Linked DNA regions of Homo sapiens: all the other regions are linked to region 4. Evidence: promoter capture Hi-C in 16 types of primary human blood cells and fetal thymus (Javierre and others, 2016). All regions are on one chromosome and are shown on one strand. Each heading gives the region's core, a stretch centred on a gene start or on the middle of the fragment in contact. The rest is flanking DNA. Distances are from core to core; before and after follow the strand shown.

Region 1 (6,907 bases), core at 4,025-6,524, 180 kb after region 4:
TTTTGGATGATAAATTGGCTTTCTCCTCCAAAGGCAAATTGGTCTTTATAAGGGTTTGCAATTTTCCTTTTCCTCCAAAGGCAAACTAGTCCCTATAATGGTTTGCAATTTTCCTTTTTAAGTTCAGAAATACCTCCCAAACAAAAACAAATCCCACTTAATAATTAGTTTCTTTTCTTTGAGACAAGGTCTTGCTCTATCGCCCAGGGTGGAGTGCAGGGGCAGTCATGGTTCACTGCAGCCTCAACCACCTGGGTCCAAGCAATCTTCCTGCCTTGGCCTCCCAAAGTGCTGGGATTACAGGCGTGAGCCACTGCTCCCAGCCTAAGGAAATTTTAAAATCATTTTGCCAAAATACTTTATGGCTGAGTAACTTTTCCCCTTAAACATTCACAAGAGCTACGATAAAATGTTAAAAAAAAAAAAAAAAAAAGCTTAGTTATAAAATTTCTGTTGCAAGGGAGGGGAAGATTAAGAAGATATGCCAAACTGAAATGTTTCCAGCAACAACCTCTTCCCAATTGCATGGAGTATCTTAATCACAGGCCATGCCTTGTATTGTTTGCAAGTGTTTTAGCTTCTCTTCTATTAAACTGACATTTTACTAACAAAATCATTTTTCTGAAAGGCCTTGCACATTGTCTTAAACACAACAGTCATACAATAGGTCACTCTGAGTTTTTTGTTTCTGTTTTTGTGGCAGGGTCTTACTCTATTGCCCAGGCTGGAGTGCAGTGGCACAATCTCAGCTCAGTGCAACCTCTGCATCCTGGGTTCAAGTGACTCTCCTGCCTCAGCCTCCTGAGTAGCTAAGGTTACACGTGCCCAACACCATGCCCAGCTAGTTTTTGTATTTTTAGTAGAGATGGGGTTTCACCATGTTGGCCATGCTGGTCTCGAACTCCTGACCTCAAGTGATCCACCCGCCTCCACCTCCCAAAGTGCTGGGTTTACAAGAGTGAGCCATCCCACCTGGCCCAATAGGTCACTTTGAAAAATTACTACAAAGATAATTCACATTCATTATAATAAACCTAGAATATGCCAAAGGTATATTTTTCAAATATCTTACATTAATTATCTAAAGATGAACAGAATAAACAATTCCGGCACACTCCTTCAGGCAGGTGTGCCTACAAACACAAGACTGTCAAAGGTAATTTAACTGGGTTCTTAATGAATTACCTTTCTATTCTACCAGTAAAAAGAAAATAGTCCTGCTTAACTCTCAGCACCGTTGTGAGAATCAAATAAAGCAATGTAGAAGTTTTCCGAAAACTGAAAAGTATATAAAATAATCTAGAAACTGACCAGCAGAGAGATGAATAAAAATGATGCTAAATTTCAAGCTTTAGTTTAGATTAGTTAGTTCTTAACTTCAGGTGTATGTAAGAATCACCTGGGGAGCTTTTAGAAAATACATACTGATGCCTGGGCCCCCAACATAACAACCCAAACCAACTCTATGGGGAGTGAAAGCCTGCTATCTGTATTTTTTAAAATTCAAATGACTAACGCAGAGTGCAGATCATGAGCCACTAAGACAAGTGAATCTATTTACAGAAGCTGTTGAGAAGAATATAGACGGAAGGTTATTGTTTTTTGATTCTCCAGACTACAGAAATATTTAAGTTCTATCTACCTTCAACAAAACACCATGTATGGTGTGAATCTATTTTAGTTGTTGAAAAGGGGGGAAAAAACCTTTAAACATAAACCTCCTGTAAGTACTTGCACATACACCTACACAACTTAGATCAACATGTGTTGTAATATGAAATGTGCTTTATGTGGTTGATTACTATATTAGATTAACTTTTAGAAAGCTTTACAGAGTAAACATGTACTTAATTATAAACATGTATATATATCATATGTAAAATGCTACATATGATAAATTCAGGGTGGTGGGATTACGGGTAATCTTCACTTTTTTGTACTTTTCTGGATTACCTTTTTTTTTTTTTTTCTTTGAGTCAGGGTCTTGTTCTGTCACCCAGGCTGGAGTGCAGCAGCACCATTTCGGCTCACTGCAACCTCCTCCTCCCAAGTTCAAGTGATTCTCCTGCCTGAGCCTCCAGAGTAGCTGGGATTACAGAACATGCTACCACACCTGGCTAATTTTTGTATTTTTAGTAGAGAGGGGGTTTCACCATGTTGGCCAGGCTAGTCTCGAACTCCTGACCTTGTGATCCACCCACCTCGGCCTCCCAAAGTGCTGAGATTATAGGTGTGAGCCACCGCGCCTGGCCAAATGTATGTTTTAATGGCTGCGATAAAAGGGCTAATTTTGTGAAATGAAAATGACATATACAACCTCTGAGGTTGGACAGTATTCCAGCAAGGTTCAGAGGCTTTTCAACACAGCATCAATGTGGTAAAGAATAAAAGGATGATGCAATGATTCATGTGTTCTAAAAGTAAGTATATTTTACATATCAATGTGTAAGGAGAAGCCATTATGCTCTTGAGAGAGGCACCTTTAAAAAAAAGATAAAAACTATTAATCCCTGATATACCTGCTTCTTACAAAGAAATATGCAATTAAAATAGGCACCAAAAGAGATATTTCTTTTTTTTGTTTGTTTTCTGTTTTTTGAGACCAAGTTTCTAAAGATGAACAGATTATCTAAAGATGATGATCTTGTTGCCCAAGCTGGAGTGCAATGGCGCAATCTCAGCTCACTGCAACCTCTGCCTCCCAGGTTCAAGAGATTCTCCTGCCTCGGCCTCCCAAGTAGCGAGGATTACAGATGCGAAACACCATGCCCAGCTAATTTTTTGTATTTTTAGTAAAAACGGGGTTTCACCATGTTAGCCAGTCTGGTCTCAAACTCCTGACATCAGGTGATCCGCCCACCTCAGCTTCCCAAAGTACTGGGATTACAGGCGTGAGCCATGCGCCTGGCCCAAAAGAGGTATTTCTAAAAGCAGTTAAGAAAGCCCCAAAAAGGCCCTCAGTATTCATTCAACAAATATTTTTTGAGCACTTATTACGTGCCATGCTCTACACCAGGCATTACAGAGACAGAGGTAAATGAAAAACTATGTCCTGGCCTTCAGAGCTTTCAGCCTTTCAGGTACCTAAGAAATATCTATAACAATTATACGCCCAAAGTCCTCCTCAATGCCACAGTTCTGATTAAAGTGTTACTTAACATCTGAACATACTACAGCTGGAGGAAAAAAGCTAATTACAGTACACTATGATACTGTGTTATATGAAATGTGCTTTATATGGCTGATTACTACATTTAATTGATACCAGTTTTAGAAAGCTTTACAGAGTAAACATGTACTTAATTATAAATATGTAGTCTGTGGTATTTTCCACAAAAAATTATACATTAGATGTTTGGCCAAACCTATAACCTCAAAATATATTTGTTTCTATAGAAGAAAAATCAGATTGTACACATCATTTTTAGTCTTTTTAAAGCTGCCAGGTATTGCAAATTAGTTTTAATGTCGGTAAGTATTGCATTACATATAGTTCTAAATACTGTACTGATTAACCACATCACTTTTGCTGAAGTTAATTGGTGACTTTAAAGGTTGAAATTTTAAAAGAAAAGGATATGCCAGCATCAGGTAAACCAAAAGTCTTTAAATCTATAATCTCTAAAACAACCTAATGAGAAGTTAGCTCTACCTGTTTAACTACTTTTTAAACACACACCCAATTAATATAACCGTAAACTTCAATGGGTGAAGCTTTCTCCTAAGTTACTTATTTAAAAGTTCATAACAAAGAGAGTGTGAAGACTCAGGAAAGCCATTCTAAGATACAAACATCTACTCTATTAACTACATGTAAAGGAATTTTATAAATATGTTGATATAAATGTCAGAGCCCACTATAACATTATCAACATTGTTTGTGCTTGTAATAGCTGCATTTAAAAAATATTCTAGGAGAAACTTAAAAATGTAGGTTCCTTTCCCTCTAACCTCTCTAAATAGAATCATTTTAACATACATTTTTAAAAGAAAGTTACCCTATAGTTATTTTATAAAAGAATAAGCTCAATGTTTCACCAAAGTATTTTTTCCATACCTATGAAGCTTCTCGTCATTTAACTTTTATTCACTACCTTAATATTGTCATAAGAATCATTTCTTTTCCTGACCAGCTATTATATATTATGTCTCGCTGATGTCTACATAATTACCTCTACGTAATCCCCTTCTTGGCACTTTTCGTTTTCTAATAATTTGTGCTGAAGAAAAACGATACTGATTTCCTATGAGCTTACCTGTTGCTTCCTTAAACATCATTTTAGTTAAACAGAAAGCATTTTCTTCTCATTTTTGTCTATATAATTATTAAATTTCAGAACTAAAAGAGCCTTACAGGGGACCTAGTAAAATTTCCAGTTTTACAAAAGAGAAAACAGGCGCACTGAAGGAAAAGTGGCATAACCAAGATGAAATTATTTTCAATGTAGATACCAGTAAGTAAAACAAGATCTGGCAAAAAGAATTGAATGTAGTAATTCAGCAACTTGATTGAAAAACTGATTATCAGCCAGGTGCGGTGGCTCACTTTGGGAGGCCGAGGCGGGAGGATTACCTGAGGTTGGGAGTTCAAGACAAGCCTGACCAACTGGAGAAACCCGTCTCTACTAAAAATACAAAATTAGTTTGGAGTGGTGGCGCATGCCTGTAATCTCAGCTACTCGGGAGGCTGAGGCAGGAGAATCGCTTGAAACCGGGAGGCGGAGGTTGCAGTGAGCCGAGATCACACCATTGCACTCTAGCCTGGGTGACAAGAGCGAAACTCCATCTCAAAAAAAAGAAAAGAAAAGAAAAACGGACATCACATTAAAACAATATTTAATATATCCTTGGTTTTCAAATCTGTTCATTATTGATATTTTAATAAGTTTCCCTATACAAATTTGGTTTCTAAAAGTTATTATTTAAACATCTTAATTCTTTTTTAAAATAGAGATAGGGTCTCACTATGTTGCTCAGGCTGGTCTTGAACTACTGGACTCAAGCGATCCTCCCACCTTGGCCTTTTGGGATTATAGGCATGAGCCACTGCACCCGGCCTAAAATAATCTTATCACTTTGTAAAATGGCAGAGAAAACATCTCTGCCATTTTAGAACTCTGCCATTTTAGAAGGCTAGAACTGAGTTGGTATGACGCATTTAAGCAAAACTGGCTCTAAAGATGATCAGTAGCGCTTGGAATTTGAGACAAGAGCATTCTTTAATAAGTAAACTGGGTTCAAAATCTCTCATATTAAAAATAATAAAAATAAAATAATTGAATCAATAAGCATCTTTATTGTAAATTAATTCAAACTGTTTGGAGTTGGAGATTTACATTATATTCTTTGTAATTCACAAGATTTTCATAACAATGATAGCCGGATTTCAAGAAGACTAGAGCTTTTTGTCATGCATCTCTTAGAATGAGGCCTGCTACAAACAAATGATTGAATGTTACAACTTCTTTTTTTTTTGAGATGGGGTCTCATGCTGGACTGCAGTGGAGTGACCTTAGCTCACTGCAACCTCCACCTCCTGGGTTCAAGCGATTCTCCTGTCTCAGCCTCCCCAGCCTCCCGAGTAGCTGGGACTACAGGCACGCGCGCCACCATGCCCAGCTATTTTTTTTTTTTTTTTTTTTGTATTTTTAGTAGAGATGGGGTTTGGCCATGTTGGCCAGGCTGCTCTCGAATTCCCGACCGCAGGTGATCCACCCGCCTCAGCCTCTCAAACTGCTGGGATTACAGGCGTGAGCCACTGCACCCGGCCCCCAAATGTTACAACTTCTAACTGAATACCTTAAGACCTCTTAACATCAGAGTTATGGAATAAAGTTCAAGTATAACCCATACAAAGAAAAAAATTAGCAAACATACTGATAAAAATAAATAATGTTTACTTATTTAAAATGTTGTGGTGGCACATGCCTGTAGTCCCAGCTACCAGGGAGGCTAAGGTGGGAGGGATCACTTAAGCCCAGGAGTTTGAGGCTGCAAAGAGCTAGGCACCACTGCACTCTAGCCTGGGCAACAGAGCAATACCCTATTAAAAAATATATATATATATCATATATGATATATATACACCTATATATAATCTATATATCATATATATAGATATATATACCTGTCATAAAATGTATTGAAAAAACCCTTAAAATTTTATATTGCTGAAATTATTTCTAATAATAAGAGATAAATGATGTTCCTAGTCAAAACTGAAAAAGGGATATACAGAGAAATTAAAAGTAGGTGAGAAAGGAATAAATCATGTTTATTTTCAATGCTAAAATAATAGTCAACTCAAACAACCTGGGACTATGATTAATACACAGTACCTGTCAAACTAGCACAGCATGCTAGGTAAAAGATATGAATCAAAACTACTGCAAGACACATGGTTAATTCCTGATATACTTATTTCTGAATTTCTATCGTTTTCCATTTTGAAATAGCCTCTGGTTTGTTGGCAGTCTTCTCATGACAAGCTTCTTTAAATACAGAAAATGTATCTCTCAAAGTGATACACTGAGTCAGAGTTATCTTAAAAGCTACCTTTAAGATAACTTTTTTACTTCTCTAAACTACATCCCCACCTCTCCCAGGGAATGCTTATTAGCCCTTTTCAATTTCCTTTGGCACAAACAGGGGACTCTCCTAACCTAGGAAGACTTAAAATAGTGAGTTGTCCTCATCTCTGATACCCAGGTGTGCTTAAGATCAAAATTTAATATTCCCTTTTCAATATTAATCCATTCATTTTATTTTAGTTGCAATCATTCAGTGGTTGGGAGTAACACTTGGATCACTTAAAGCAGTAAAGAAAATTAGATTACAAAAAATGCAGCAGCTGTTCATGACAAACTCTGCATGAAAATTGTAGGTAAAGACCAGAATCCAGATATAT
Region 2 (6,723 bases), core at 1,119-3,618, 240 kb before region 4:
AGTCTTTCTTCCTGTGATATGGGTTCAGTTGATGAAAACTCAGGGAGGAGACTAGAGGTAATTGCTTTCTTCCTTGGTATTTCCAGACTTTAGGCAGATAAGGGATGAAGAGAACAACTTCATCCAGAGCTTTGGGAGAGATGAAGAATTGAGAGATGGGGTAGGGCCAAGGGTGGGGGGTAGGGAGTGAAGATCAGAGAGACCCTGAGGCTCTTCTTATTTCAGCATGTCAAAGCACCATATTTTGGGGTAACAGTTGCTGAGCCCCAACAACTGCCACCCCATAGTCAAATTAAGCCGATCATCCCCAAAGCAATATTAGTCCAGTCCAGTTCCTCTCATGACAAATGACCTGAACACAGGATTCAGCGAGTCTTACTCGCTGTGGTCATTTTGGAGGTAGGGAGATCATTAACCCACATACTTTGATAAAATACGAAACGCCTTTCCTAGCTGGTTCTTTTCCTCTCCTATAGGCCGACCCCCCTCCATCCCTTTATTAGTATTGAACTGAACAAATTAGTTAATATGGGAACATTTGGATGTATCAACTTTGCTCTGAAACAAAAATGTATTCATCCCCAAACTCTATGCTGGGGGCTGAGGGAGAGTCCTTACGACTGACATAGTCCCCAACAAGGTTCTCATTAGTCCCAGTTTTTTTTTGGACACCTTTTCCTCCGCATTCACATCCTTCTGCCCTCTCCAGCACTGTGCAGGAAGAACCAACCAACCTGACCTTGGTGAAAGGGCTGTGGGTTTTTCAACCCTTCATTCCTGCTACTTTTTTTTTTTAATTTTTTAGTATTCTTCTGTGCATCCTTTCTTCTCTCCTAGGCTTCTCACCCAGCCTCTCTGTTGAGTACTACTTGTAGGCAGAGCTCCCTCATTCACAACATCCCAATGTATTTGTCCTGTATCAAAGCAAACCTTATACAGTAGCTCTTTTAAGAACTGCTAAAGGAATGAAGGAACAAAACTGAGCCAAATAAAGCAAAATGAAGAGGATATGTATGCAGGCAATTGTGGGAACATATCACCAGAATCCTCTCTTGTTATTGTACCCAAATCCACACATTCTCCTCAGTGTTGTCTGGGAAATACATCAATCCACTGTGAATGGTTTAGATAGAATAGAATCCATCAATGTCACCAGCTTGATTCCTCCTCAGATGATGAGCCACTTTCTCCACTCCACCTCCAGGGCTGGCCCCAGTCTTCCTAAATGTTCATTAACTCCTATTAGGTATTCCGAAACTCTCAGGTTTTCTGAGTCAGCATAGAATGGTTGGAAAAGCAATTGCTGTAGAATCAAGAAGACTGAAATTGGAATACTGGAGCAACTACCTACTAGCCACAGGCAGGTTACTCTCTCTGAGTCTCAGGTTCCCCATTTGCAAAATGAAGCAAAGCTATCTACTCCAAGGATTGCTGTGAAGATTAAAAGACCACGTGCTAACCTAATAGGTGTTCAGTAAATAAATATAATTTTCTATTTTTCCCTGCAAAATTCATTTCCCAAACACAATCTTTATTCTTTTTTTTAACATATAATAGCCATACTATGGCTTACCAACTCCCCAGTAAGCCAGGACTCTCTGTATACGCAGTGTTTTGCCACATCATTTACATGGATGAAATTGTTTCCTATACTCCCAAATTTACCCTGCTTGGTGACCAAGAATCACTTCTGTCCCTATTACTAGTGATATCATGTCTGCATTTAGAAACAGACAAGTGTTATACAAAATTACATAATATGATAGGAATGCTGTCAATGGATATCTATTATTATATTTACCAGTCAAAATTTTAGTTGTTATAACTGGTATCACCAATTAAAAAATTTTATAAGAAAGGGGTTTTTGTACCATTGGATCTATTGAATCATTAAAAAAAAAAAGAGTTTAGAAAAAGAAGAAGCTATTTATATACTATTTCATTCCATAAGACTTTATCCAGTTCCACTGTTAATAAAATGTACATGCGCAGAATTGTATTGTTTTCTCCATTACTAAACATGTATTTGCTGAGTACCTTCTGAATGCCAACATGGTGCTAGGTACTGGGCATAGGGTGGAAGACACAATAGACAAGGACACAGCTCCCTGGTATGGGAAACAGATACTTTATGTCTTCAGTTGTAAGGTCCACTGTTGTTCCTATTTAATATCTTTGAATGTGGAATATATCTTACAATGCTGTGGGCTAGGGCATGGTTGTGACATTGATAAAAAGGGCTCTTAACTGCCATCGCTTCAGTTGACTTGCTTGCCTTTTTGAGTGGCAGTGCATGGCTTGAGCTTAATTTCCATTCAGAAGGTTTTTGAAAAGACTAACTCATTATTTGCACATAAAAAGGCACAGAGACAGAGGTGAGGCATAAATTTGATATTCATCATTAGAGTAACCATCATCCTATGTTTTCTTACAAAGTAACAAAAAGTGTTTTATGAAATGTAATCACAATATATGAAGCTGTGCTTTACTGGTGCACATGCAAGAGGATTGCCCATCAGGCTCTAAGCAAAGCAACTAAGAGTAGGAGAAACTGCCAAACCCTAAAGTAGGGGAAAGAAATCTCCAAACAACAAGAGGCACTGTGACCAATTCACATAAGACTATCACTAAGACATCAGGTTTTAACTTGTAACTTGCTTTTTTCCTTGTTAGTGGTATGTTAAACAATGGTATATCATGCTATTTGTGTATACTGGATTCAATGAAATACTATAATAAACAAGTAAGCAAAACATAAGATCATAACACGTCCTGAAAGGACCTCTCAGCAAGAGTGACACATTGCCAAGTAATGCACATTGTTCCACATGGAGTTGGTGAGGATAACAGCACTTCCTTCCAGAAATACTTTAGTATACAAAGTGCTGTCACGTGATGACGTCTCATTTCAGCATCTCAACAACCGCACCTGGAAGGCCTTATTATTTTGTATATTTACGGATGAAGAGACTGGATCTCAAATAGCTTAAGAGACTTCCCTAACATAACTCAGCTAATGCCTGGAAGACCCAAAACTAGAATCCAGGGCTCCTGACTCTACATCCTATGTTTTTCTTCTCGGCTACATGAAATGGTACAAAATACGAATTAAATGATTATCCATGGTCTTGTGTAATTCTGGCATGTTTCCAGCTAAGACTTCTCAGCTGTTCATTCAACTCAAAGGCATCCTTCAGTCCTCTTCCCCATTCTTCTCTGTCTCGGGGATCTGCCTGGGGAGGGAGTGTGGTGAAAGCAGAGTAACTGAATCCTCACTAACCCCAAGGCCCTAACGCAAGGAGATGCAGGCAATAAATCATTCCATTGCATTTACCATTGCATTGCATTTACCATTGCATTGCATTTACCCATACGTGGGGCTCTCCAGGGATGGCATCAGATGCTGCAGGAACATGAATGATAAATACCACATCCCAAGGGTTAGGGCCCAGGCAAGTTCTCAGGGGAGAGCTATACATATGACTGGTAAAACCCACTATGTCCAGAAGACAAGGGCACCCTGCTGGTTTGCATGAGCAAAGCTAAATTGGCGCTGACAACTGGCAATAGGTATTGAGAGTCTTTTTAAAAGTTGATGTCACTTAATCTAGTAATCCCATTTCCAGGAATTCATTCAAAGAGAATTAATCTGGGATATAGAGAAAGGTCTATGAATAAGATTGCATCACAGTGTGGTTTACATTTGGAAAAAACTGTGGTTGTAACTTAAGTTACAACAGTAGAGGGTTGTTCAAATATTATAATTCTGGTACAACCACACGTTAGGATTCTCTCTTGCCAATTATTGATGTCGTGGGGGAGTGTTCAAGACAAAACATTGAGTTATAAAATCAGGATTCTAAATTATATATATACACACACATACACACAATTAAACTCAAACATACACATGGAGACACACACAGCATTTTAAAACCTAGAAGGAAATCACAACCATAATACAATAGTTATCTCTGATTATGGGAATACAGGTAATTTTGGTGATTTTCTCTATGTTTTCTTTTTTTTCTTTTTCTTTTTTTTTTTTGAGACGGAGTCTCAATCTGTTGCCCCAGGCTGGAGTGCAATGGCATGATCTCAGCTCACTGCAACCTCCTTCTCCCAGGTTCAAGCGATTCTCCTGCCTCAGCCTCCCCAGTAGCTGAGACTACAGGCATGAGCCACCAAGCCTGACTAATTTTTGTATTTTTAGTAGAGATGGGGTTTTACCATGTTTGCCAGGCTGGTCTCGAACTCCTGACGTCAGGTCATCCACCTGCCTCGGCCTACCAAAGTGTTGTTGGGATTACAGGCATGAGCCACTGCACCTGGCTGTTTTTCTCTAAGTTTTCTACAATGTTTTATTTTGCTTTTTAAGACAGAAAGTCCACGCAAATCAGTCAGGAATAGATGTGAAAAATGGGGATGGGGCCTTTGAACCAGGAGCAATATGAGAAGGTGAGAAGGATGGCCTGGGCCGGCTGGGTCTGCGAGACTACCTGGAAAAGCCACGGGAATCACAGCCCACAGGGTGACATCTCCAGATCCAGCAGTCTTTTAGGAAGGCAGATGGAGTCTCAGACCTGTCCCACCCATCTTAAAGTGGCCTGGTCACAGGGTCAGAGCTTCAGCAGACAGAGGCGCCCTGGGATAAGTTGCCAAATATGGGTTGAGCAACAGTGGCACTGGAACGAGGTAGGAGGCGGGGAAAGGGGATGGAAGGTAAAATCCTGCCCCTGTCCTCAAGGTACTTACAGTCAATGTGAGGAAGGCTGACAGCCATAAAATGATGACCTATGACAACGAGGGTCGTTCCACACACATCCTCCAGACCCCGGCACAAGACCTCCGCCTTTCATCTCCATTATATTGGGCAAAACACAAAGCATCAACGAAAAAAAAAAAAAAGTAAAAGTACATAGAAAAGGAGACACAGAGGAATACAGAAAAGCAAAAACCTCCTTCAAACTGGTGGATGTTTCATCCCAAAGGACGCTCGACCTTTCTCAGGCATCCTGCCACTGAAGAAGTCAATTACTCACGGCCCACAGTCCCTAGGTTCCGCTCAGCACAGTCTGGAATCAAGGGTTCATTTAATGGAAGCTTAACAGATTCAGATTTCTCTAATATTCCACATCCCCTTCTGCCAAGAAGCTGCTTTGAAAGATGACACTCCCTTGATGTGAATTTGCAGCCTGCCCCATTAACAAGGCTTCAGTCAGAAAACATTTTTAAATCAACCCTGTTCCAGACACTTGCTCCCAAGGACAAACTAGAAGAAACTCTGCACCAGCTCAAACCTTCCAAGCACTTTGATGATCAGAAATGAAGGGAAATATTAGAACAAATCTTATTAATCCAAATATTCTCAACAATCTTCAAAGCAAACCGTTGCTCTGGGCTGCAGAAAGCAGAGCTCATGCAGAGCCGGCCCTTTCTGTCCTAACTCCTGTTAGCCAAGCCAGCCCCCTAAAAACAGACCTCAGAACAGCAGAGGGAAATATTCAGAATCAAAGGTGATGGGAGGAAAAAGGAAGAGGAAACAGGTAAATGAAAGAAGGAGGATGAGGATTGGAAAGCTGACTACTTAAACTTTTAGCACGTCCCTCAAATAAAAGGATAAGGTGTTGTATGCCACACTGCCTCAAAGCAACTCCCTCAGTTCACAGTTGTGCAGCTGAGAATTCTGGAGAAACCCCACGGCAGCTGGCATCTATGTCCTGGCTCCACTCACAAGGGGCTGAGAACCCCAGGACTCCTCACCATGCACATTTCTCTTGGGTGTGGTGGGAGGAGCATTTCCGTTTCCAAACCTCGGGGCCATTTGCTCTTAGATACACAAACATCTCCCCAGCCTTTGCCAAGTTCACCCAGCCAGAAGGCCATAATGCAGAATTAGTAGCATTTCAATCATTTCCGTGACGAGCTGGTGACAGGCTGGAATATGATGAGTGAAGCAATCAGATGTTGTTACAGGAAAGAGGCATGAGAAGAGAATGACAACAGAGTGGTACAGTAATAAGCATCATCGTAAAAGCCCCCACTGGCATCAAGTTTATCATCGCCAGCATAACTAAAGGAGCCAGAACACCTGTTTGTAATGGGGATTCCAGCTCCTCCACTTTCTAGCTGTGTGGCTGAGCACGCTTCTCGCCCTTTCTAAGTCTTGGCTGAGCATCTGTGGAAGGTGGATAGCAATCGCTACTTCATAAGATTGTTTAGTGATTAAAGTCAAACAATGTCTATAAGGCATTTGCAAAGCATTAGCAGTACCAGTAGTACCAGTAGTAGTAGAAGTAGTAGTAGTATTTGGTATTATAAGGAGTATTTTATATTATTTCAAATAGGATTATGCACTATTTCATTATACCCTTATCTCATATAGAAGACATTTTTAATGCTATTTGATTGAAAGTAGACCAGAGACTCAGAAAGGTTAAACCTCTTTCCTAGTAAGTATAAAAAGTTAATGCAGGCCAGGTGCAGTGGCTCACGTCTGGAATCCCAACACTTTGGGAGGCCAAGGCGGGAGGATCACCTGAGGTCAGGAGTTTGAGACCAGCCTGGCAAACATGGCAAAACCCCATCTCCAGTAAAAATACAAAAATTAGCCAGGCATGGTGGTGCACACCTGTAATCCCAGCTACTTCGGAGGCTGAGGCAGGAGAACAGCCTGAACCCAGGAGGCAGAGGTTGTGGTGAGCCAAGATGGTGCCACAGCAC
Region 3 (6,373 bases), core at 1,141-3,640, 220 kb before region 4:
CTTTCCCACCATGGGTAACCACTTATATTCATCTCATCTGTATCGTTCCAACATAACCTTACGCAGCTGAAAGCCAACATGGAGTTATTTACTTATGCCCCCACCCTTCCACAAAAGTATCACACTTTAGATACTGTTCTGCACCTTACTTTGGCAACTCAGCAGTACATTCTAGAAATCTTTTCAAATCAGTACAGAGTGTTTCTTTAGTCAAGCTGCAAAGTATTCCATTGAGGGATATGTCCCCGTTCAGTTATCTAGACACTAGATGGACACTTGGGATGTTTCCAGTATTTTACAATTACAGACAATCCTGCAATGAATGACCTTGCATTAATTTCATTTCGTAAGTGTGCAGATATAGCCACAGGGTAGAGTCCCATGCAGGAAATGCTGAGTAAAGAGAAAATGCATTTGTAACTTTCATAGCTGTTGCCAAATCCCTCTCCATTGGAGTTGCACCATTTTGCATTCCTGCCAGTGTCTCCATCAAGGTGTGTGGTCACACTTTTTAATGTTTACCAATCTGATGGTTGAGACTTGTGTCTCAGTATATATTTACTTTGTATTTTTCATCTTAGGAGTGAGGTTGAGGATCTTTTCATATGTCAAAGGGCCATTCATATTCCTTTTTCTGTGAAACGGCTCCTCATGTCCTTGGTTGGCCCATTTTTTGTTCTGTGGGTTGCTGTCCTTGGTCTCCTTGATTTCTAGGCATTCTATAGATATCGGGGATATTCGCCCTTTGTGTTATGAGTTGCAATTATTTTTTCTCACTTTATTGTTCATTTTTTGCCTCTGCTTATGGTCTTTTTTTAATTTAGTTGGTCATACAGAAGTTTTTTGTTTGCTTTAATGTAGTCTAATTTAACAATCTTTTACAGCTTCTGAATTTTGAATCACAGAGGGAGATTCTTATTCAAAAGGTTATCAAGGAATTAGCCCATATTTTTTTTCTGGTCATTTTATGATTCCTGTTATTTCATTTAAAAATTGGATCCATTTGGAGTTTTTCCTGATGTATGATGAGAGGTATGGACCAAACTTATAACTTTTCATCTTTTTCCAGATCTCCCAATACTATTTTTTAAAGTCCATCTTTACCCCAGCACTTTGAGAAATTAGATTTCCACTGCCCAGAACAACCTGGCCAATTTGAGAAGTCACTTCTATCAAATACTGAATGCAAACATATGCATTTGAGTGTTCTGGGTTTCTATTCTGCTTCTTTATCCAAGCTCCTGTATACACAGCTTGAATTACTGAATCTTTACGGTACGTGTTAGTATGAAATAGGACAAATCTTCCCCCATAGTCCTTTTTAGTTCAGAGCTCCCCTGGCCATTTACTGGCAAGCTGAGCTCTGTCACTGGGGCTCTCCTTGCTCACTGTCATGTTTTATTCTCTTCTCTCCTACAAGGAGGCCAATATATGCCTGCAGGCATCCAACCAGGGAAAGAGGCAAGCACAGCCCACTCCCCAAACAAGGCAGAGGCAGGGGTGCAAGGCCTTCTGGGAGAGTCCCAGTAGGCCATGTCTATGTACCCCTTTGAGGCCGGTGTTCTGGGGAAAGGCCAAATAGGAGACCTATGTCTTCCTGGAGGTTTGGACTTTGCCCTGAAGATTCTCAGCACTGATCTTCTGGTCCATCCAATCTGTTTAAATGAGGGTGATCCCAGATAACCTCAACATAAAGAGTTATCCTGTCTGATATTCTGTCTCCTCATGATCTGTTACTGATCAGGTGCAGAAGAACCCTTCAAGGAGGAAGATGTTACAATAGCAATATCAATGCCTACTTCTACTACCACCAATGCCACCAGGGCCACCTTTATTCATTGAGAACCTGCTATATACCAGGCATTGTGGGAGGTACTTTACACGTTTATCTCATTCACTTACAACCCCATGAGGAAACCATCTGTAAACGTGCCCAGAATTGTGGCTCATTAGCGGCAGAGCCAAGCTTTGGATCCCAGCCTGGTTCCAAAACTCATACTCTTCACCACTGGGCAACTTCTTCTCAGAATGATCTGCCACCCTGGGATGATGCAAATTCCCAGGCCTCCCAGACCTACTGAATCAGCTGCTCTGGGAATGGCACCCAGGAGTCTGCATCTCCAGCACATGAATACATGAGAACCACTGCTCACAAATGTAAAAAGTTAGGTAATATATCAGGGAGGCTGTGAGGATGAGTGTTTCCTTAGCAGTGGTGTAAGGGCAGAACCCTGGCTGGAGTGTTTTGCAGTCAGACTGATTTCCTCATTAGCAGAGAGTGTTAACCGGTAGCCTAGTTTGGCTCCTCGAGGTGCCTGATTCAGACAGAGCATCCCACAGCTGGAGCACCCTAGCTGGTGGAGGTAGGGACTCAGCCAAGTAGGCTCCAGAGCTGCCACCTAAGCCCAGTAGATTTCTCTTGCCCAGAACAACCTGGCCAAATGGAAGATGGGAGGCTGAAATCCTCACTCCAAGGAGGGGCCTCCTTTTCTTGGCACAAAGGCACCGCGCCAAGCTACACAGCTAAGGCAGTGTGCTACCTAAAGCAGGTGCACAGAATTCACAGAGAGGTACCAAATAGGCTGGCAAAGACCTTGGTGGATAAGTACCCACAAATATCTGGAAGGAACTATGTTGGGTTGAGACATGAGAAGGAAGAGATCTTAGGCAAGTTTGGAAAGGGAAACAACACATTGAATGCCAACCCCTGGACTAGATATTTCATCAACTTCGTTCATCCTCACTACCACCCACACAAGACGGTCTTCCTATTTCCAACTTAGAAGAAGGAAGTTGAGGCTCCTACTGGTTAAGCAAGCTTCCCAAGGCCATACAGCTAATAAGTGTTAAACAATCAAACACAGAACTGACTGGCTCCAAAGCCAGTGCCCGCCCCACTGGCCACTCCACTACCCTGCCTCTGCCATTGCTCCCTATGGCAACCTGGAAACTGTCGGGTACCTGCCCGTGGTCTGAAGTGGGCAGGCAGCAGTCAGCTGGGCCTCCAGATATGGGTGGTGAAGGGAGGATACAGGTCCAAAAGAATATCTTAGGGGAAATAGTGCACATGCCCAGAAAACTTTTATAGTCTCAGAACTTAGATGTGCGGAGAAATCGAATTCTGGTCCTGGTTTGCTTTTTTAGCCAGTTGTGGGCCTTGGCAGTCACTGAACCCCTCCTTATTTCTTCATGAGGAAATTAACATGCCTAGGATAGGAACCGCTGTGCTGCAGACCCCAGGGTCAGGCAAGTCTCAAAGAAGATGAGAGTCACCAAGCGCCTCAGGAAAGCTGAAGGGCACAGGGTGCATGCTGCAGCCATGACCTCAACCTCTGTGAGTCTAGAGGTGACCATATTGGCCACACATAAGCTCACCTTCCCCCTACATTTCATAATCCTTCCCTCCCATCAGGGCCAGCCTTTGATTAAAATTCCCAAGATTATCTGAGGAGCTGGCGGTACCACCCACCAATGGAGTTCATCTGGCTGCCTTTACACCAGCCACCTTATGGCTGGGTGGGCACTTTCCTATTCTTCGGCCAACACAACACTTTCCAAACTGTGTGACAGTTGTTTATTTACTTGCCTCTACCATAAGACCATGAGCTTTTTGAAAGCATGGTCTGTCTTATTCACTGTTAGGTATCACAGTGTATTCACAATCCCTGACACATAGTAGGTGCTTAATAAATGTGTGGTTGAATGAATAAATGAATTAATGAATGAATGAATGAATGAATGGGATCAGGGTGGGCCTTCAGTCTCTAAAAGCATACCCAAGAGCCAGCCCTCTCAGCCGCAGGTCCGCACATGGGGAAGCCCTAGGGAGGTTCAAGGACTAGATCAGGCCCATTTTCTCATCAGGCAGCCCCCAAACCTCTGCCCCAAAGAGCACATCCAACATGCTTTCAGCCCACACTCCCCACCCACGGTTTACTGCCTGTAATCCCAGCTACTCGGGAGGCCGAGGCAGGAGAATCGCTTGAACTCGAGAGGCAGAGGTTGCAGTGAGCCGAGACCACCCCATTGCACTCCAGCCTGAGTGACAAGAGCAAAACTCTGTCTCAAAAAAAAAAAAAAAAGAATAACCTTGGGCTGTTTGGCCAAGTTAATGCTTAATGCTTTCCTCATGCTGCAAGCGTTTATCTTTGCCCAGATTCCAGCTCCAGGGAGGGGAACATTCCTGCAGAACAGCCAGGCGTTCCCAGGTCACCTCTGCTCTCACTCTCACTTTTCTTTTTGCATGATTAAATCCGGCCTAAAAACACGTCTCAGGGGCACATATCTGTCACTCATAATAATCCTATAAGGTAGGTACTACTGTTAGTCTTATTATATAGTTGAGACACAGAGAGGTTAAATAACTAGCCCAAGGTCACACAGTTAATAAGTAGCAGAGCTGGGATTTAAGCCAGGCAATCTGGCTCCAGAGCTCGGTGCCTTTTTTTTTCTTTGACAGGGTTTGGCTCTGTCACCTGAGCTGGAGTGCAGTGGCACAATCACTGCTCACTGCAGTCTCGACCTCGCTCAGGTGATCCTCCCACCTCAACCTCCCAAGTAGCTGGGACTACAGGCACGCACCACCATACCCAGCTAGAGCCCAAGCTCCTAACCGCTTCTGCTGTGCAGTAACAAGCCACGCTCAGGGCATGGGCCCAACTTGAGTTTCTTCCATCCACGGGTCCAGACTGGAAAGGAAGCAGCAATCTTCTCTTCTTTTCTCACTGAGTATAAGGCACCCAATTCATCTTCTGGCAGCTGACCTGGAGGACGGAGTGGCCCTGATTTTCCTTTTACAGGTACAATCACTGCCAATACTAAAGCAGTGCCTGTCCCTACCTGCCAGGGCACCCAGGATCCTTGTCTCCAGCAGTAACTTCATGAGGTAGGTGGCTCTGGGCTGAGACAGGACTTGCATATTCCTAGATCCCTTGACTGTGATGTCGAAGGTCCTCTGCCCCCACCCCTCCTTCTATTCCTTGTAAGCTTCACTTGGCAATTGTGTAGTTTATGTCTGGTACAGGAATGAAGGATAAGGTCAAATGAAGCTCAAAGCCAGGAGCTAGATAGTCATGATATATCAAATAAAGTTTTGGAACAAGAACACAATGGGATTAATTTGCCAATCAAAACAGCGCTTGGCAACTTGACTGTAAGCCAAGATCTCTCATGGCAAGAGCAGCTGAAGGGCCTGTGATTGTCCAGCTCCTGGGGAGCCTCCCTGGCCTAACCGTGGTCAGATGCCAGCATCACAGCCCCCTTAGCTGGGTAAGGATTCTCCTAGTGCTACCTCTGGGAGAGAAAGAAAAAAATCTAGTCTGAGAATGACACCAGCAGACAGCAGCTCTGCCAGGTGTTTGAAGGGTGAAGGTCATGGGACTCTGTTTTTACTACCCTGGTCACCCCAATTGTTTCGGGGTATTTTCCATAGACAAGAGGATGCCCCAGTCAGCTGTCTTCCGTGATTCAAGACCCAGTCTACTGTCTTCTGTGATTCAAGACCTGTTTCCTCTTGTGCCGATCAGAGGCCTTATTTGGAGGCATCGGCCTTTATGTGGCATGGAATGTAAGCCCTCTGAGCTTTAACAGAGATAGGAAGAGTCCTAGAACATGGCAGGGAAGAGGGTCGGAACCTCTGTCCTCCAGCACAGTAGAAGGATGCTGGCTTGAATGTCAGGAGAGCCCAGAGTTTCTACCTGGATGCATGGTTTGGGGCATGTCAGGTGGCCTTTCTGGGTCCCAGTTTCTTCAACTGTGACATAAGGAAGGTAGACTAGATCATCACTACCAATAAAAGGTCCCTGGTCCTTGGGGAGCAGTGGTTGGAGTGGGAGAAGGGCATCGCCCAGCTATTTTCCAACACATCGTAAAAGATATCGCACAGGACAACTGAATGTTGACTTGGTTTGCTTACCTGTGGAATTCTATCCACTTGGTGTGGTAAAACGGATTCTCGCCAGAGAACTGGAAGTGTAGATGGGTGGTGTTACCTATATCCTTGATTGATAAGAGAAGGAAAATGAATTTTTCCTCAATAAGTACAGGTTGTTTGAAATGCAGGCTGGGTGCAGCGACGCTGCATGGTCTCCAGGCGCCTTGTGTTTCTAACCCTCTTGCTGGACAACTTGGCCTCCACAGGGTAGTCCCCAGGGAACCCTTGGCCATCTCCGGCCTGAAGGAATCAGGGAAGACCTTCCGGACATGCCAAGTCTCCCTGAGACCCTGCTCCATGAGGGCTGGCTCCCTCCCCGACCTGGTCTTTTGGTTCAAAGTCAGTCCTGGAGTTATGTCTGCCAATTGACCCCAACCTCCAGAAAACTCAGAAACAGCCTGTCCTCTCAGGCCTGCAAACCAGGAGCAGCCAGGCCCAGCC
Region 4 (6,256 bases), core at 2,151-4,650:
GTCCTTAGAAAAATTTTAAAGAGATCAGATAATACACATCCTTGAAGATCTTAAACAAGTTACTAAAAGCACATCAGAGAAGTGCCTGCCATGCCTGCTGGGAGAGGCTGTACACATACACACAGAAAATACCATTAATGTAGGCAATGGTACCTTCCTACAACTACAACATAGGATGGGACTGTGCCGGAAATGGGCACCATCAGGAAAGTTTACATTTTATGATTCTAAACACTTTAATTCTTCCTTCTGGCTTCCCATCCTAGTAATATGTAATATGTAAATTTTTCTTGTTAAGAAAAATGTCTTAAGACAAGGAATTGGCCAGTCAGGGTGGCTCATGCCTGCAATCCCAGCACTTTGGGAAGCCAAGGTAGGTGGGTCGCTAGGGACGAGGAGTTTGAGACCAGCCTGGGCAACGTATTAAGACCCCATCACTACTTTTTAAAATAAATAAACAAAATAAAACATTTTTTAAAAAAGATGATGGAGTTAACTGGACTCAAACTGAAGTTTTAAAAAGATGAAGAGTCAGAGATCCTTAAGGATAAAGACAAAATTAGTCTGTCTCTTTCATTAAATTCTTATTTGCTGGTAGATTCCGACTCAGAGTCAGAGAAAGTTTAACTGCTTAAGCTCTACTACCTTTAAAGCTCTGGTCAAGTTTCCAGAAAACTTATTTCTATTGAGCAGTAATGTACAAAGCTAAGCACTTACATCAGATTTTTAAATGTAAGAGACATATCATACTCTGAAGTTCATTTCGGGCATGATTTCATCAAACCAAAACATTATGGAATTTACTGCTACAGCTGAAATGCCTTTTGTGCTCTCAAACACACCAGTTAAATTTTAAAAATAAAATAAAAAAACATGGTTTGCTCCTACAACTACAACATAGGATGGGGCTGTGCTGGAAATGGACACCATTAGGAAAGTTTGTTTTATGATTCTAAACACTTTAATTATTCCTTCCAGCTTCCCATCCTAGTAATATACAGAGCAAGAAAAATTTCACACACAACAGTGACTGACAAATTGGGGAGGTGGAAGCAACAAAAAGGATTTATTAACTACCTGAAAATGATTTACATTTTAAGTTAAATTTCCACCACAACTTCTAATCTACACAAATTTCTCCTTTCTCTCATATGCTAAAACAAATACATTCAATCTCAATGTGCTGAAGTCTACAAATCATCATACAAAGATCTTACAAGTGACCAAAAATAGCTCAGATTAGTAGATAAAAATACCCCATAGTTACAATAAAATTACAAGTATCTCCAAGTACCCAAAAGCTAGAATCTTGATACTAATTTTAAAATAAAACTAATAAAACTTGTCTTATGTTTTTTGAAAAAGTTCTGCTTAACAAAAACACCAAAAATTAGCCTTTTAACCAATGCTTAATGCAATAAAGGACTCTGGAAATATGAATTTAGAAAATTTTTGTATAAGAGTTTTAACCCACAAACATGTTATTCAATTGTTTTTTCTTCAAATATAAGACTACATCAGTTTCTTACTGTTTTCATTATTTTTAAAAGAACATTTAGTATACTACTACTCAGTAAAGTGCCTCATGTGTTTGTCTTACTTTTTATTACCTTATAGAGAACAGTGTCTTAACTCCTGAATTTAATCACAAAAAGTGAAAAAAGATAGGAAAACGATTTGTTGAAAGCCACGTTTAGAACAGAAATAACAAATGTCAGATGAAAAAGGCTCCTCTAACAGAGAGTCTCCCGCACATAATCCTTTTTAAAACTAAACATCTATTATCAGCTCTTAATCTATAATGTGTGTCTTGCTTGATGAATTGGATTGAAAAAAATTAAATAAAACGTGTAACAAAAAAATGAACACTACAAACTATAACAGAAGTCTGCCTACGCAGTACCACCCTCGGACTCGGTAGAATACAGGACAGAAATACACTTGGTCCTGCAGTCATAAGTCAAAGTGGCAAAGAAAAAAACAGAAACAATACATTACATGAAATAGATATTTTCTAAATTATCAAAGGCTACAGACACTCATCCAAAGCATTCCTCAAATTTTTTCAATCGTTGCTTTTAGGCACACCTTGAGGTTTTTAAGTTTACTCTGGGGCAAGTCAAAAAGCTTACCTAAAATAAAGCACTTTAAGCAAGAATAAAATGATGCAGCTGGTCCTAGAACACACCGGAAATAAAAATCGTTGTCTTCAAAACCCGAAACAAGAAATGACATGCTTTTAGCAAATTTGACTTTCATGTGCAGGGGGGAGGGGGCACTGTTTTGACAATCCACTAACTACACTGTACATCTACTCCACCTGAAAGTTTAACGAAACTCTTCAAGTTGGGTCACCCAGGGACCGAACTTCTACTCTAAGAGACCCAATCCAGCCTACAAATCAAAGAACATCCCCAAATGGTTTACCCTTCTCCCGACCAAACCCTTTCCCCTGGGCGACAGAATGTTTTCAAGAACACCAACACACCCTCCTGTGATCTCTCTCCAAACACAGGACACAGGAAGAACCGAGGCCACTAGTCTCAGATAAGCGGGTGATGACTGCTGCCACTCCACGGGCGGCCCCTCTGCAGAATGGGGTCGGTCAGGACCGGCGCGCCGGGTAAAGAACAATACACGAGCCCAGCTGCAAACAACACAACTTCCCACGAGTCTGCGCGGCGGGTCTCGGCGGCGGAGAGGACTTCGGAATCCGCCACCGGGCAGGGGCTGGGGGAGGAATGGTGAGCAGGATGAGCGCTGAACGAGGACGGCGAGACCGCCAGCCTCGCTGCGGCTGCCTGCACCGGCGCCCGCCGAGCAGACTGGAGGGATGCAGCCACCAGCCTGGGTTCCACCGCTCTCACCAGGCGACGCGGATGCCCCGACTTCGCTTCTCTGGGAGGCGACCCCCGCCTCCCGGGGCCGCCAGGGCGGTGGGGGGCGGGGAAGGCCTCGCCGGAGGCTTGGGAGCCTCCTCGGCCCGCCACCGAAGGGAAAGCGGTCGGGGCGCGGGGGACAATAGGGAGCGGGGAGCGCGGCCCGCCAGAGTGGCGCCGCTGGCCGGCTGGGCTGACTGACGCGCACGCCGCGAGGCGCGACTGGGCTCCGCTCGGCCCGGCCGCCGCTCCGCCGTGGTCGCGGCGCCCCCGGCGCTCGCAGTCGTGCCTCACCTCCCATCCCCGCCGCCCAGGAGAGGAGCAGAATTAACACTCTCAGCAACACCATCTTCCGCTGCCGCTGCCGCCGCCGCCGCCTCCTCACGGGTTAACAGCAGCACATCGATCCGGAGGGAGAAGCTGAAGGGGCTTGGTCCGGAGCCTCCACGGGAAGCCGGGACCTCCCCTGGCAGGAGAAACGGCGAAGCACCTCCCTCTCGCTCCACTTCAGGGGCCGGCAACGCTCCTAGCTCCTCCAAAACAGGGACCTCCCTCCCCCTCGTTCGTTTCCTTCCTCCTTTCCCCGCTTTCCTTCCCTTGCTCGTTCCCTCTTCTCTCCCCCCCTCCTTCGAAACTCAGACCTCCGCCTCCTTCCTCACCACGTGACGCGCGGGCACCCAACTGGCACGCGGAGCCGCGCCCCTACCTCCCGCCCCTACCCGTCCCCCAGGCGCTTCAGGGGCGCGCGCATGCGCGCGGGGGACGGTTCCCGTGCTGCTAGGCCTGCCGCCGCTTCCTGTCCGCCGGCGGAGAGCTGGGATTGGGCTTGGGAGGCGGGGTTTGTCCTGGTCCCGCCCCGGGGCGGGAGCGCTCCTACGCGGAGATAGTGCTCCGCTACGTGTTAGAGCTGCTGAGGACCTTCCCTTGGGCTAAAATGGTCCGTGGAAGATGTAAGCAGGGCTGCTTTCGACTTCTTAACGTCACAAGTAACAGAGGTTTTTTTTCTTCTTTTTCTGCCTCTCTTGGTGCACCACAGCTACCAAGTAAACAAAAAGTCCCAACAAGCAGTAATTATAGCGGCAGCTGCCCCAGTGATGCGAACATAAATGCAAAGACCTTCAAGCAGCAGGAAAAAAAGACACCATGTCCGAGATGTAATTTTCCGAGCTCTTTACAAATTTATGTCACAGACTAAGGCTTTAGCCTTTGCAAAAGCATGCAACCTGAACCAGACTGTCTTGAATCTCCAGTCCAGAAAATGTCCTCTTTTCTCTCTGTCACATCTTTGAAGCGAATCCACGCACATCTTCTCCCCAACTTCTTAAAGCTTGTGTTTGTTTTCTCGTAACTCATTTTGATTCTTTAAACTTGGATGTCATGAACTAGAACTTTTTATGGCCATTTAATTAGATATTCTTCATCTATTTGGTATCGTGCTTGAGTAGGCCGAATTAGGGAGAGTGTGTGTGTGCGTGTGTGTGTGTGTGTATGTGTAAATTGTTTTGTTTTGCTTTCTAAAGACAAGGTCTCCGCTGTCTCGCCAGGCTGAAGTGCAGTGGTGTGATCATAGCTCACTGTAACCTCCAACTCAAGCCGAATTAGGGAGAGTGTGTGTGTGTGTGTGTGTGTGTAAATTGTTTTGTTTTGCTTTCTAAAGACAAGGTATCCGCTGTCTCGCCAGGCTGAAGTGCAGTGGTGTGATCATAGCTCACTGTAACCTCCAACTCAAGCGATCCTCCCGCCTCGGCCTCCCACAAGTGCTGGGATTACAGGCGTGAGCCACTGCGCTCGGCCTTAATGTTATTGATACTGTAATAAACTGGAATTCCTATACTGTTACCTGTATATTTTATACCATTTATTACCATTAACATAAGTGAAGAGAATTTTTTTTTTTTTGAGACGGAGTTTCGCTCTCGTTGCCCAGGCTGGGGTGCAATGGTGTGATCTCGACTCACCGCAACCTCTGCCTCCCAGGTTCAAGCGATTCTCCTGCCTCAGCCTCCCAAGTTGCTGAGATTACAGGCATGCACCACCACGCCCAGCAAATTTTTTGTATTTTTAATAGAGACGGGGTCTCACCATGTTGGTTAGGCTGGTCTCGAACTCCCAACCTCAGGTGATCCGCCCGCCAGCCTCCCAAAGTGCTGGGATTACAGGTGGGAGCCACCGAGCCTGGCCATAAGAGTCTTCTTTAATTCTCAGTTTGAGAAATGAATGATTCTAGTTTTGCTGCAACATTAATAGGCTCAAAAACGGACGTTTCAAAACCATCATAATTGTATCCATTTATAATGAGATACATGGAATCATCAAAGGATGGCAGAATCTCACGAATGGTTTTTTTTTCCTTCATTAAAATATTCAGTCTTAGGAAATAGTTACCTGCAGACATTACATCTCATATCACCTGTGCTTTTTACTAATCTCTTGTGGTAGTGCTGTCAACAAATGATATTTTTATTTTCCAGCTCTTAAACCACCTTATAGCATGTTTTCTGTTGCACAGTATTTTTATAATGAATTCCAGTGATTAGAGGCAAATGGCACTTTCCCTTAAAATTCAACTGGAAAAAACTCCAAAGCCATATTTTGCATTACTAAGATGATTACTGAAAATTACATTTATAAAGACTGTATTTTTTTTTTTAATTTTTAAAATGTATTTATTTTGGCCAGCCACGGGGCTCACAGCTGTAATCCCAGCACTTTGGGAGGCCAAGGTCCGCAGATCACTTGAGGTCAGGAGTTTGAGACCAGCCTGGCCGACATGGTGAAACTCCGTCTCTGCTAAAAATACAAAAATTAGCCAGGCGTGATGGCGGGCGCCTGTAGTCCCAGCTACTCGGGAGGCTGAGGCAGGAGAATGGCGTGAACCCGGGACGCAGAGCTTGCAGTGAGCCGAGGTCGCGCCACTGCACTCCAGCCTGAGCGACAGAGCTAGGAAAAAAAAAAAAGCCGGGCGTGGTGGCCTGTGCCTGTAATCCCAGCTATTCTGGAGGCTGAAGCAAGTAATCCCAGCTACTCAGGAGGCTAAGGCAGGAGAATCACTTGAACCTAGGAGGCGGAGGTTGCAGTGAGTCGAGATGGCGCCACTGCACTCCAGCCTGGGAGACAGGGCAAGACTCTGTCTCAAAAAAATTAATTAATTAATTAATTAAAAATAAAAATCAAATAGCCAGTGCAGTGGTATGCACTTGTAGTCCCAGGTACTCGGGAGGCCGAGATGGGAGGACTGTTTGAACCCTGGAGGTTGAGGTTGCATTGAGCTGTGATCACACCACTGCACTCCAGCCTGAGTAACACAGACAGACCTTGTCTCAAAAAAAAAGAAAAACTGTATTTTTTTTATTTGTCAAGCACGAATGGCATTACAT

Evidence for each region. The method cuts DNA at HindIII sites, captures the fragments that hold promoters and counts their contacts. A CHiCAGO score of 5 or more calls a contact.
Region 1: a fragment that was not itself captured here is called in contact with the fragment with the promoter of ADAM10 in region 4 in 5 of 17 cell types (fetal thymus, erythroblasts, naive CD4 T cells and 2 more); the score reaches 7.5 in fetal thymus.
Region 2: a contact is called between a fragment that was not itself captured here and the fragment with the promoter of ADAM10 in region 4, in 3 of 17 cell types (fetal thymus, total CD4 T cells and megakaryocytes). The highest score is 5.4, in fetal thymus.
Region 3: a contact is called between a fragment that was not itself captured here and the fragment with the promoter of ADAM10 in region 4, in 4 of 17 cell types (megakaryocytes, M1 macrophages, M0 macrophages and 1 more). The highest score is 9.5, in megakaryocytes.

What each region holds. Positions count from the first base shown.
Region 1 is chr15:58,924,660-58,931,566 of GRCh38, forward strand. The region is part of intron 2 of SLTM (SAFB like transcription modulator); the gene reads right to left. Among named protein-coding and RNA genes, the nearest start is that of SLTM, 5.6 kb to the right of the region's middle. RefSeq lists an enhancer at 2,723-3,222. The HindIII fragment of the contact is 2,423 bases long and covers 4,064-6,486 here.
Region 2 is chr15:58,508,068-58,514,790 of GRCh38, forward strand. The region is part of intron 1 of LIPC (lipase C, hepatic type); the gene reads left to right. Among named protein-coding and RNA genes, the nearest start is that of LIPC-AS1, 13 kb to the left of the region's middle. The HindIII fragment of the contact is 5,465 bases long and covers 1-5,101 here.
Region 3 is chr15:58,524,075-58,530,447 of GRCh38, forward strand. All of the region lies in intron 1 of LIPC (lipase C, hepatic type), which reads left to right. Among named protein-coding and RNA genes, the nearest start is that of LIPC-AS1, 29 kb to the left of the region's middle. The HindIII fragment of the contact is 852 bases long and covers 1,965-2,816 here.
Region 4 is chr15:58,746,307-58,752,562 of GRCh38, forward strand. ADAM10 (ADAM metallopeptidase domain 10) reads right to left here and starts at 3,401. Exons shown (of 16, transcript NM_001110.4): 1 at 3,174-3,401. The coding sequence starts at 3,228. RefSeq lists enhancers at 2,534-3,169, 2,621-2,750, 3,841-4,020 and silencers at 2,861-3,150, 3,481-3,770. The HindIII fragment of the contact is 2,079 bases long and covers 2,126-4,204 here.